Regions from separate parts of the Homo sapiens genome. Here region 2 is linked to region 1. The links are contacts of gene promoters, found by promoter capture Hi-C in blood cells and fetal thymus (Javierre and others, 2016). All regions are on one chromosome and are shown on one strand. Each heading gives the region's core, a stretch centred on a gene start or on the middle of the fragment in contact. The rest is flanking DNA. Distances are from core to core; before and after follow the strand shown. Region 1 holds the start of SELENOT (selenoprotein T). Region 2 has its middle 12 kb from the start of MBNL1.

Evidence for each region. The method cuts DNA at HindIII sites, captures the fragments that hold promoters and counts their contacts. A CHiCAGO score of 5 or more calls a contact.
Region 2: a contact is called between a fragment that was not itself captured here and the fragment with the promoter of SELENOT in region 1, in 1 of 17 cell types (fetal thymus). The highest score is 5.3, in fetal thymus.

The regions. Positions count from the first base shown.
Region 1 is chr3:150,602,025-150,607,500 of GRCh38, forward strand. It overlaps SELENOT (selenoprotein T), which reads left to right and starts at 1,297. Exons shown (of 6, transcript NM_016275.5): 1 at 1,297-1,475. The coding sequence starts at 1,339. It overlaps LOC124900547 (a long non-coding RNA gene), which reads right to left and starts at 1,159. Exons shown (of 2, transcript XR_007096128.1): 1 at 920-1,159. RefSeq lists enhancers at 1,086-1,165, 1,286-1,435, 1,408-2,181, 1,456-1,755. The HindIII fragment of the contact is 3,294 bases long and covers 769-4,062 here.
Region 2 is chr3:152,254,296-152,259,699 of GRCh38, forward strand. It overlaps a transcript of MBNL1 not described here. Among named protein-coding and RNA genes, the nearest start is that of MBNL1, 12 kb to the right of the region's middle. The HindIII fragment of the contact is 1,213 bases long and covers 2,660-3,872 here.

The DNA.
Region 1 (5,476 bases), core at 47-2,546:
CAGGCCTCTGAGCCTAAGCTAAGCCATCATATCCCCAGTGACCTGCACATATACATCCAGATGGCCTGAAGCAACTGAAGATCCACAGAAGTGAAAATAGCCTTAACTGATAACATTCCACCATTGTGATTTGTTTCTGCCCCACCCTAACTGATCAATGTACTTTGTTGATCAGTAATCTCCCCCACCCTTAAGAAGGTTCTTTGTAATTCTCCCCACCCTTGAGAATGTACTTTGTGAGATCCAACCCCTGCCCCCAAAATATTGCTCTTAACTCCACCGCCTATCCCAAAACCTATAAGAACCAATGATAATCCCACCACCCTTTGCTGACTCCCTTTTCGGACTCGGCCCGCTTGCACCCAGGTGAAATAAACAGCTGTGTTGCTCACACAAAGCCTGTTTGGTAGTCTCTTCACACGGACATGTGAAACACTGTGGTCAATTTTTTTTCTTTTTAATAATAATTCTTTTTTAGAAATATGTGCTTAAATAATTGTAAGCCAGGCATAGTTGCCTGTGCCTGTATTCCTAACCACTTGGGAAGCTGAGGCAGGACTGCTTGAGCCCAGGGGTGTGAGGCTGCAGTAAGCTATGATCACGCCACTGAACTCCAGCCTGGGTGACAGTGAGACCGTGTTTAAAAATATATATATACAGATGAAATGATATGATGTCTGAGATTTGCTTCCAAATATGCCTAGGAAGGGAAGAAGTGTTTAGAGATATAGACAAATCAAGATTGTCAAAATGTATAGTAACTGTTAAAGCTTGCTAAGGTAGTTATTCTATTTTTGGATATGTTTGGAATTGTCCAAAGGTTTCCTAAAACTTATGTTTAATATTCTTTCAGGAGAAAGCAATATTGTAAGATCAAAGAAAAGGCCATAACAGCGCACCCAAAAAATTTCAGCATTACCATTCTGAGGGTCAGGAGTCTCCTCCCTTCCATCCGCCAACACTTGAATCAGGACTATAAAGTAGGTGTTTCCAAGTCTCAGGCAGGTAAATGGATAAATTGCAAAACTGGATGCAGAACTCACATCTGCCTCATACATAGGCCCTGTGACACCCCACCAGCTCCTTTGCTCCCTTTCTGCCTTTCTCATGCCGTCCCAGAGTCTTGCACACTACCAAGATGGTGGTGAGTCAGGACAGTGAAACAGGTCGGCTCTTCACTCCAGGAGTGTGCGCGGGCGCCGGGCCGCGCAGGCGCATTACTGCTCCCCTCCCCCGACCTTGGCTGATCGCGCCTGCGCAGTGGGGAGCAGCTCGCTCCTGGGCTTTGGGCTGGCTGCAGTCTGTCTGAGGGCGGCCGAAGTGGCTGGCTCATTTAAGATGAGGCTTCTGCTGCTTCTCCTAGTGGCGGCGTCTGCGATGGTCCGGAGCGAGGCCTCGGCCAATCTGGGCGGCGTGCCCAGCAAGAGATTAAAGATGCAGTACGCCACGGGGCCGCTGCTCAAGTTCCAGATTTGGTGAGTATGTGCACTGGGCCCCGGCCACCCCGCCGCGCCTCTGCTCGGCGCCATTGGCTACGCGAGGCCCCGGCTTCGCGGCCTAAATGGCCGCATCTTCGCTGGCCTCGTAGAACTGTGCCGGCGCCCTTCCACAGCCAGCCTTCTCGCGGCCCCTTAGCGCGGTCAGGCCGCCCTCCTTTTCCAGGTATAACTGCTCACTTGTTTTTTGCCTCCTAGAACAGTGGGAATGGGGAAGGAGGGCGCGAGAAGGTTAAACGCTGAAAGGCGAAGACTGGGGGACACCTGTTAGTACGGAGGACTGGTTGGCGGCGTCACGCCATAGCCACCCCGGCTGCCTGCGGAGATGGGGATGAGTAGGCGCCGCGTCGGCGGAGGAGCGCCAACCGTTTGTCAGTTCACTTTTTCTGCCCTCTTTTCCGGGGTAATGCCGGGCGGCTTCGCTGCCTGGCTAGATGAAGGTTAATTCGGGTCATTGGAGAGGATCCGGGAGTGACAGACGCCGTTTTTCTCCTGAACTTGCTGGGGGGACTGTTGAGTTTGCGAATGGGGCGTCTGACAGCTGGAGGGGGTGGAAGGAAGGTCTGGGGATGCTGGTTCTGTTTGCCATTTCCAAAGTGTCAGAAAAGGAGCACGTTGTTCTTCTAAACATTGACAGTTCGCTCGCATTCCCTCCTCACCTGCCTCCCAGGAGTTGCCTGCTCTGGCATCTCTTTCTACCTTTCAGTTGTCTTGTGTATCCAGCAGATCTCGGCAGTTTTCGACAGTGTTCTTTAAATGATTTTGTTTTTAACCTAATCGTTAGAAGCAGGGCAATGATGCATTTTATACGGTAAGTGGGGTTGCGGGTGGGGATTGAAAGGCTCTGAAGATGGGGGAAAAAACACCAAAATTGTAAAATTATAGAAATGAGAATCTTACACCTCCAAAGATGACATTTTCTCAGGATAAACCGACCATCCCAGAATAGCCAGATTAGTAAATCATCAGAGTCCGGATACATTGGAATGTTGGTGTTGGACATCATTCATTTAAAACCTTCTTTTAAGAACTTCATGTATTAGTATATTAAAGTTTTGATTTTCTACTTCTCCAACTAGCTTTTTACTTACTCACTGAAGACCAAGCAAACCTTTAAAATAATTTTTAAAAATCGGCTTAAGGTGATGTTTGAGTTAGAAAATAAGATGGTGAGACTTTATTTTTTTGAGTGAAAACTAAAACATTGCAATTTCTCCTGATTAAAAACAAACAAGGCCGGGCTCGCTGGCTCACGCCTGTAATCCCAGCACTTTGGAGGCCGAGGCTAGCGGATCACCTGAGGTCGGGAGTTCGAGACCAGCCTGACCAACATGGAGAAACCCCCATCTCTACTAAAAATACAAAAATTAGCCTGGCGTGGTGGCGCATGCCTGTAATCCCAACTACTTGGGAGGCTGAGGCAGGAGAATCGCTTGAACCCGGGAAGCGGAGGTTGCGGTGAGCCGAGAACGCGCCATTGCACTCCAGCCTGGGCAACAAGAGCGAAACTCCGTCTCAAAAAAAAAAAAAAAAACCTCCCTGTACAATGTACTATGTTTCTGGAATATATCATCTTTCATGTAATACTGCAAATGGGAGAATGGTTTATCCATTAACTTTTTTCCTTAATTTTTAAATTAGAAGGTGGTAATCATCTTACTAACCTAAAGATTGTTAAGGGTTGTGATACTTACGGATTTAAGTGTTAAAAAATTGCAGTTTTCAAATTATTTAATTTTTCTGTATCCTACTTTTATCTCTTGGTTGTATTTTTGCTTTTCCAAAATACCCCTTTTACGTTTGCTTTTTTTGGAACACTTGTCACAATAATTTACCAGGTGTATCTTCCACCAAGGCTATTCATAGCAAGGTTTTCAAAATGTGTAAACAAACGTAGGGAAGGGCATTCAGTCCTTCAAATTAAACTTAAAAAAAAAGTAGTAAGTACTTCAGTTAAACTTTTGATACTTTGTTTTTCTTTGTTTTTAAGTACAGACCTGTCCCAAAAGTCTAATAATTTTCTTTTACAGTCACTCTGAGCATGTTATATAACAAAAATGCTTCCATTTAAAAAATTATTTTTATTTTTATTTTTCTGACACTATCCACCGGAGATCATTTTTTGTTTAATCTGTAGATGGGAAATAACGTTATTAATAAGACCCACCAAATACAGATCAACTTAGCTTGTTGTTTGTTGCTTTTCCCCCCAGAGATTAATCTGTTTATGGTAAAGTGAATATTGGGTTTCTGGTTTTGCTAGAATCTTGTGGACATTAATTTGCAAGTTTGTTTGAGAAAGGACAGGAAGCTAATACGTTTGAGGATAAACATGAGAATTTTAAAATTCCATTTGAAGTCAGTATTATAAAATGCAGCTTTTCATTAATTACCACTGCTAACAATCAAAAGAGAACTATTTTACCTTCATTTCCACTGACTTTTTCCCCTTATAGTGATCATGAGTATTTTATCAAAAATAACTATACCTCAATATATCACCTGGTAATTGTACCACTTTTGCAATTGTTAGTCAACACAATAGCAACATAGTGCTGAGAGATCAAGCTTGTAGAGTAGCTTACGACAGAGTTTCCTATTCTCGTTTTTTTTTTTCCTTTCTTTCTTCCTTTTTTTTTTTTTTTGCTGAGACAGAGTCCCGCTGTGTCACCCAGTTTGGAGTGCAATGGCATGATCACGGAGCCTTGACTTCCTGAGTTCCGATAATCCTCCCACCACAGCCTCCCAAGTAGCTGGGACTGCAGACGCGCACCACCACGCCTGGCTAATTTTCATATTTTTTGTAGAGACCTGGTCTTGCCTTGTTGCCCAGGCTGTGTGTAATACCTGCTGTATGCCAGGAATTAAGCATGCTAAAGATGTGACCATCTCAAGAAGTCTACCAGACTGGCACAGTATTACTTGTGTATCTGAGTCTGTGGTTTATTATGTTGATTGAGCAATATAATTAGATACTTTTGATTATATTGGCTTCATACTTGGAAAAAAATTTATTCTGCTTATTTGGACGTTTAACACTTAACATAGAAAAAGGAAGTTCTCTAATCAGAGCTTAAAATTCCATTGTTTTTGAGACAGTGTTGCTTTGTTGCCCAAGCTAGAGTGCAGTGGTGTGATCTCAGCTCACTGCAACCTCTGCCTCCTGGGCTCAAGAGATTCTCATGCCTCAGCCTCCTGAGTAGCTGGGACTGCAGGTGTGCACCACCACGCCTGGCTAATTTTTGTATTTTTAGTAGAGACGGGGTTTCACCATGTTGGCCAGGCTGATTTTGAACTCCTGACCTCAAAGTGACCTACCCACCTTGGCGTCCCAAAGTGCTAGGATTACAGGTTTGAGCCACTGCCCCCGGCTGAAATTCCCTTTTTGTGTTTTCCTTTTATTGATTTTTATAAATTTGTATTGATAGTTACTCTTAGGCATGATGTTTGTCATACATACTTTCTCCGTATATGCGATTTAACATGTAATCAGATCTACAGCATTTAATTAGTTGCAGTTTAAAGAGATTATTGGCTACAACCCTTTACAGTTAATATTTACTTGAACATTTGACAACTGAATTGCTGAGAATAGTAGATTAAATGAAATTGAGATTTCAAAACATAAGTAGAATATGGCGGGATTTTCAAAGTTTTGTTAGTTTGAGAATCTACTGCTGTAATTTTAGGACAGCCAACTTCTAAATGTAGTTTTAAGAGGTAAATGAAACAACTGTACCAAAACAGATTTTTATTTAAATTTACAACTATTCAGCCTTGGCTTTCATAGTGTGACAGCAAGAAAATAAAGACCTAAGGTTGATTTGGATGTTGATACTCATCAAGATTAGTAGTAAAATGCTGAATTGGAGAAATTGTGAGTTACAGAGATCATGTTGGTTACTGTAGACTTGATATTTGCATATTCAACAGATATTGGAGCACTTACTCTGTGCAGGCACTTTGCTTCCTGCGGAGAA
Region 2 (5,404 bases), core at 2,016-4,515, 1.7 Mb after region 1:
CTAAAAAGAGATAAGTTCATAGTGACTGCCACTAACTTTTTAGAATCCTGGGGTGCAACACCTCTGCATTTCTTGCCCCATTGCCTCTGCCCTTGTCCTGCCTTGCCCTCACCCCCAAGAAAAGCATGCACCCACTCTTCCTTGACAGTTAGGGTTCATTGTTTTCCTCAACTACATGGAAGAGTAATCTCCCTCCAGAATCCTTTCCTGATTAGCCATCTGCCTATGCTGGCCTCACATCTATGCTTATTTTCAATATTTTTTTGTAATTACTTCCTTGTTCTATTTTTGATCTTGAAATGGATTATAAAACTACTCTAGGAAAATTCTTTTTCTTGTACATCCAAAATATCAAGGTTAGTTATATGTATTAACATATAACTAAGTTTTTGAGATTATAAGGCCCTAAATAATAATAAAACCAATGATAATGATGATAATTGCAAAGTTAGTAACAATAATAGCTCTGCTATTTCGTGTTAAACTTTTTTTGTATCATCATGTCAGGTGCTTCACATGATTAACGAATTTAATGCCCTCATCAGTCCTATGAAATAAGTACTATTATTTCCACTTTACAGATTTAAGGAAAAATATAGAAGTTCAGAGAGGTAGGTAGCTTAATAAAGGTCACACAATTGATCCTGGTGTGTCTATCTCTAAACTGGATCTGCATCATATTTATATATGGCCTATACCACTTAATTTCTGAGAAGCAAAGTAGGTAAATCTGTGGTTTAGATACAGTTAAGAATTTATAGATTATTATGATGCAGTCCTAAGCCAGAAATCTTACAATTTGGTGGAGTAAATATTAAAAGAAATAGATTTTAAGACACAGCATAAAAAATAGAAGGTGCCACATGAAAGATCAAAATAATTTAGAACTGTACTTCCAGGTGTATTGATGGTTACAAGGCTCCCTGGAGGTAGCTGGTTTAAAGCTGAACTATTGAAATTGTTTCATTAGGTGGAGAAAAGTTGTGATAATAAATTTTCAGAAGAGTCCAGAAAATTTTCAAAGAAATAAAAATATTCTAATATTACATTAATTTAATATTGAGCCTTAACTTAAAATATTGAGCCTTTTTAATATTGAGCATTATCTCCTATAGTGCTACCACAGGAGATATTTGGTGGCTCTGACTTTATGGTTCTTCTCAGGAAGTGGGTTATGTGATGAGAGGATTTTTAACTCTTGCAAGAAGCTCTGTTTTCATTTTAAAGTGAGTTTATTCATGAAGTCATATATCAAGCAGTATACTTTGGGCACTATTTTAGGTGCTGGGGAAATAGTTACGGACAAGATCAAGTTTCTACCCTCAAGCAGCCTTCAGTCTAGTGGGGAAAGAATGGAGTAAACTAGTAAAGAAATAAAATTTTAAAGGACTTCTAGATAGTGATAGTGACCAGAAGAAAATCCAGCATAGTAAAAGGATAAAGAGAAGATGGGAAAATCATCTTTACGTAGGTGGTCTCCTGAGATGGCCTATTTGAAAAGGTAATATTTAAGCTAAGACCTGAACAGTGAGAGGATTGAGAGCACCATGCAGACGACTCCAGGAAGAGTAGTTCAGGAAGAGTGATTGACCAGCGCAAGGGCCAGAATGAGCTTGGCATATCTGAGAAGTAGAAAAGAGCCTGGGTCTCAAAGGATGGTGGGAGATGAAGCTCAGGAGCTGGAGTTGAGAAAGGGCCAAGTCACATAGACTGCAGACCAAGGAATGGAGTTGCACATATGAGCAAACATTTGCAAGGACGTGCACGTGTCTTAATTGGGGATGGGAATGCAATGAATGACCATTATCTCTGGCTAACACAGTCTTGGAAAAACTGTTGTATGAAGAGAAACAGGAATTACTACATAGGTAAAAGTTTCATAGGAGATAAATTATTACATTTAGGTGAATTTTAGATAAGCCAAGTTTACCTGGATAAAAGTGAAAGGGGCTCAGGTATTATTTAAATTTGTAAACTCAATGTTTTCAGCAAAAATTGTCATGGAATAATTGACTCTAATCTTGGCCATTTGAAGATATGTACACTGATTTCTGATAATGGTGTCATCATGCAACCTAGTTTCTGCATGGATGAAGCAGAAAAGACTACAGAAACAACTATATTTTAGCCTCCAGAGACCACAGATGTTTCCTTGTTTATTGTTCCCAAATCCCAGTAGCTATTGGGATTAGGGATAGCAATCCCTGGCAACATCAACCCGCTCCCCTTAAAAGTAGACGTAAATTACTCTGCCATTTTCCATGGTAATTATATTCCCTATGATTTATTTTTATTATCCTAAGAGATCTAAATGAATCATATCACTACATTTTAAATCTCTGTTAGTTGGACACTGCTTCCTTTAAGGGGTAGGAGGTTGAGGGCTGTGATTTGGAGAAAGAATACAGAATAGCTTACTGAAAAGACTCTTTTTAAATTGAGTAAACAAGCTCAATATTTATTTGTTAGGAATGATGGAAAAAATGGCCTTCCCTCATACTTAAGAAGTTAATAACAACAAGTATAGATTCTTCTATTTCTGGTTCAGGTTAAAAGCCGCCCATAAAAAACATTACCTGGCCTTGGACTGAGTGTGTACTAGAAGGATGACAATCATGTTGTCCCCAAGGCAGTTGGATGTGTTGTTGTAGGAGCCAGAAGCTTACTTTTGAGTGCTCCTGGCAACCTCCAAATAGAAAACCATTGTGCTACTGGTATTACAGGGTGTGGAGGATTATAGATGACTTATGTGCTATTTAAGCAATGCATTCTATCTTATCATGTATATATGTGGGTATGATGACCACCATACTATCGGATTATTGCAGAGTGTGAGGTAGTGTGCGGTTTTTAAGTGCGTGTGTGTGAGAGAATAAATGCTTGAATATCTGCAATAAGTATTAGAGAGCACTCCTGAAATATAAGCCACTTCCTGACCTGGGCATATTAACCAAGAAGCAAACCTATTAAAAGTATGAGAGCATTCGATTTTCTACAATAATAGTACACATTTGTTGACATGAACTAGATTCAGGAAGGGAATACAGAAAGAGCAGGCAGACATTGGGCCTATTTAATTAACTTGGGGCTTATGATCACCCTTCAGAAGAGGATGCTAAGGATGCCTTCTCCAGAGCCAAGAGGCCTCTCCTTGTGCCTTTATTTGGCTTTCCTCCTCTCATTGGTGACCCATCATGTTAGGAAAAAAAAAAAATCTCTCAAAAGTGTAAATGTTATTCTTTCTGTGGGTGATGTCATAATTTTAGTGGCCCAAGCATTTGTTACTAAAATAGTACTTAGCAACACATAATCATTATTTTCTCCTCTTAAAATTCTGAGTGTGTTTGTTCTGATGAAGTCAGGAGACACATTTTTCAGGGAGGTAGGAGTAAGAGCTTAAAAACACGAAGTAATGCCTGGAATAATCTCTTGACTTGTGTTCCTTAAATAAGCAAGAAGACAACTAAATTTTCCTTCCTGTGGCGACAGCTCTGGCGGAGTAAAAAAAAATTTTTGAAATATAGTGCTAAAGGAAGTGGTTTTCATGCAACTGTGCATCTTATACTCTTCGTTAATGTGGTAGATACCATTTGCTTGGCTTCATTTGACTTGTCTTTCTCATGTTTTTGCTTGTAAAGTGGGTGAGAAAAGTTCGACCAAAGAAACCTGTGCACTGACCAATCAATAGTTATGTTTCTAAAGTTCCTGTTAATCATTTCAGGAAACATCTTGGGCTCCTTTTTAATTACATCCTACCTAATATAAAAACTGTAAAGGTATCTCTGTATACCTATACCATCTTGTAGAAAATAGCTATATATTTCTTAAAATTTGTAATTTGATTTGAATCCTCATATTTTGAAGAGACTTGAAGCTTAACAAGAGCTTATTTTTTAAAAAACATATTCTGTATTTTAAAATTTCTAATTACTATTTTAAATAATGAAAATAGCTGTAATTTATCAAAGGCCTGATCAATGTTAGGATAATTCTCATGAAGTCATTTATTATCATAATTCCACAAGGTAGACATTTTAAGTTTGCAGGAACCTGAGACTAGGAAAAAATTGTCCAAAATCTTATGCCTAATAACAGATTCTAAAGCCTGTCTTTATGTCTAATAGCCAAGGCCATGGGAAATTACACTTAATCTTTTCCTGCCCTGATTCTTCTAAAAAGTGTGTGGGTCATGTGCAGGCCATTGCACCAAGTTGGTTGTCAGGGGGAGGTGGGTATGCCCTGTTGCCAAGAGCAGCCAACAACAAAGGCAGCAGGGCAAGGTTGCAGCAAAGACCAAGGTTGCAACATCAATAACTACTGCCAGTGGAAACTAGCCCATGTGTCATACTTGGTATGTATATATCTGTTGCCAATAACCCCAAAGTAGACAGTGTTTTCCTTTTAGTCACTGAGTAATCTAGTCATAAACAAAACAGATTTACTTCATCGGCTGCTTCTTTCATCATGGGAAGGAAAATGCCCAAAGTTATGCCACATATCGTCTAAGCATACCTTCTTTCTAACAATTAATTTTGGCTGCCTTCTATGAATCTGATATTGGTGCCAAACATTCCCTTTCCCACAAGTTCAAGAGTAATCAAGAAAAGTTGACACCTTCTAGTGTCCACGTGGGCTTCTTGGTATTTAGGGACCTTGGCAAATTATTTACAGCTTCTTTCAGACGAGCCTTCCAGAGCTTTGTAAGAATAAACAAACTTCAAAGGTCTCCGAAGGGGAAAAACTGTCCTGGCTAAGTCTATAATTTAGGCTATCTTTAGAGAGTACAACTCCATAAAGAGAGAGGTCCAAGAAACCAGCTTCTTTTATACAATTAACTTTTTCTTTACTTAATTGTAAAGACTAAATGACAAGTAGGAAAGTGCTTTTGCAGAAGCGTGGGAGTCTTAAAGCTGTAGAAGGAAGAAACACTGTGCATGGGAGTAAGTATGTGGGTGGGAGTTATAGATTACTGCTCTTTTGCTAGTCTAGAATAACTATGCATAAACATCTTTATAGTAGTAACTTGAACAGAATCGTTAAACTTCTATTAAAGGCACTTGATACATCATTCAAAATAAGCACAGGTTACCTTATATCCAGAAACAGAAAAAAATCATTTTACATCCAGCCAAAAAAGATTTTAAAAGAGCCTTTGATTTTTGACAAAACAAGTGATAATAAAATTAAATTTTTATTTTATTTTCAAATATTAATCCAAAAGCCGACATGCTGTACTTCTTGAAGTTATCAAAGATAAGCTGGCTAGCTTTGTCTGTAGATATCATACCCTTAAAAGATTAAGCCCAGGAAGTGAATGACAGTAACACCAAAGACTGCAACAGCAAGAGCATAGTACTAATGATCAGTCAGAGATTTCTTCCGACCCTGCCTTTAGAGGCTATGT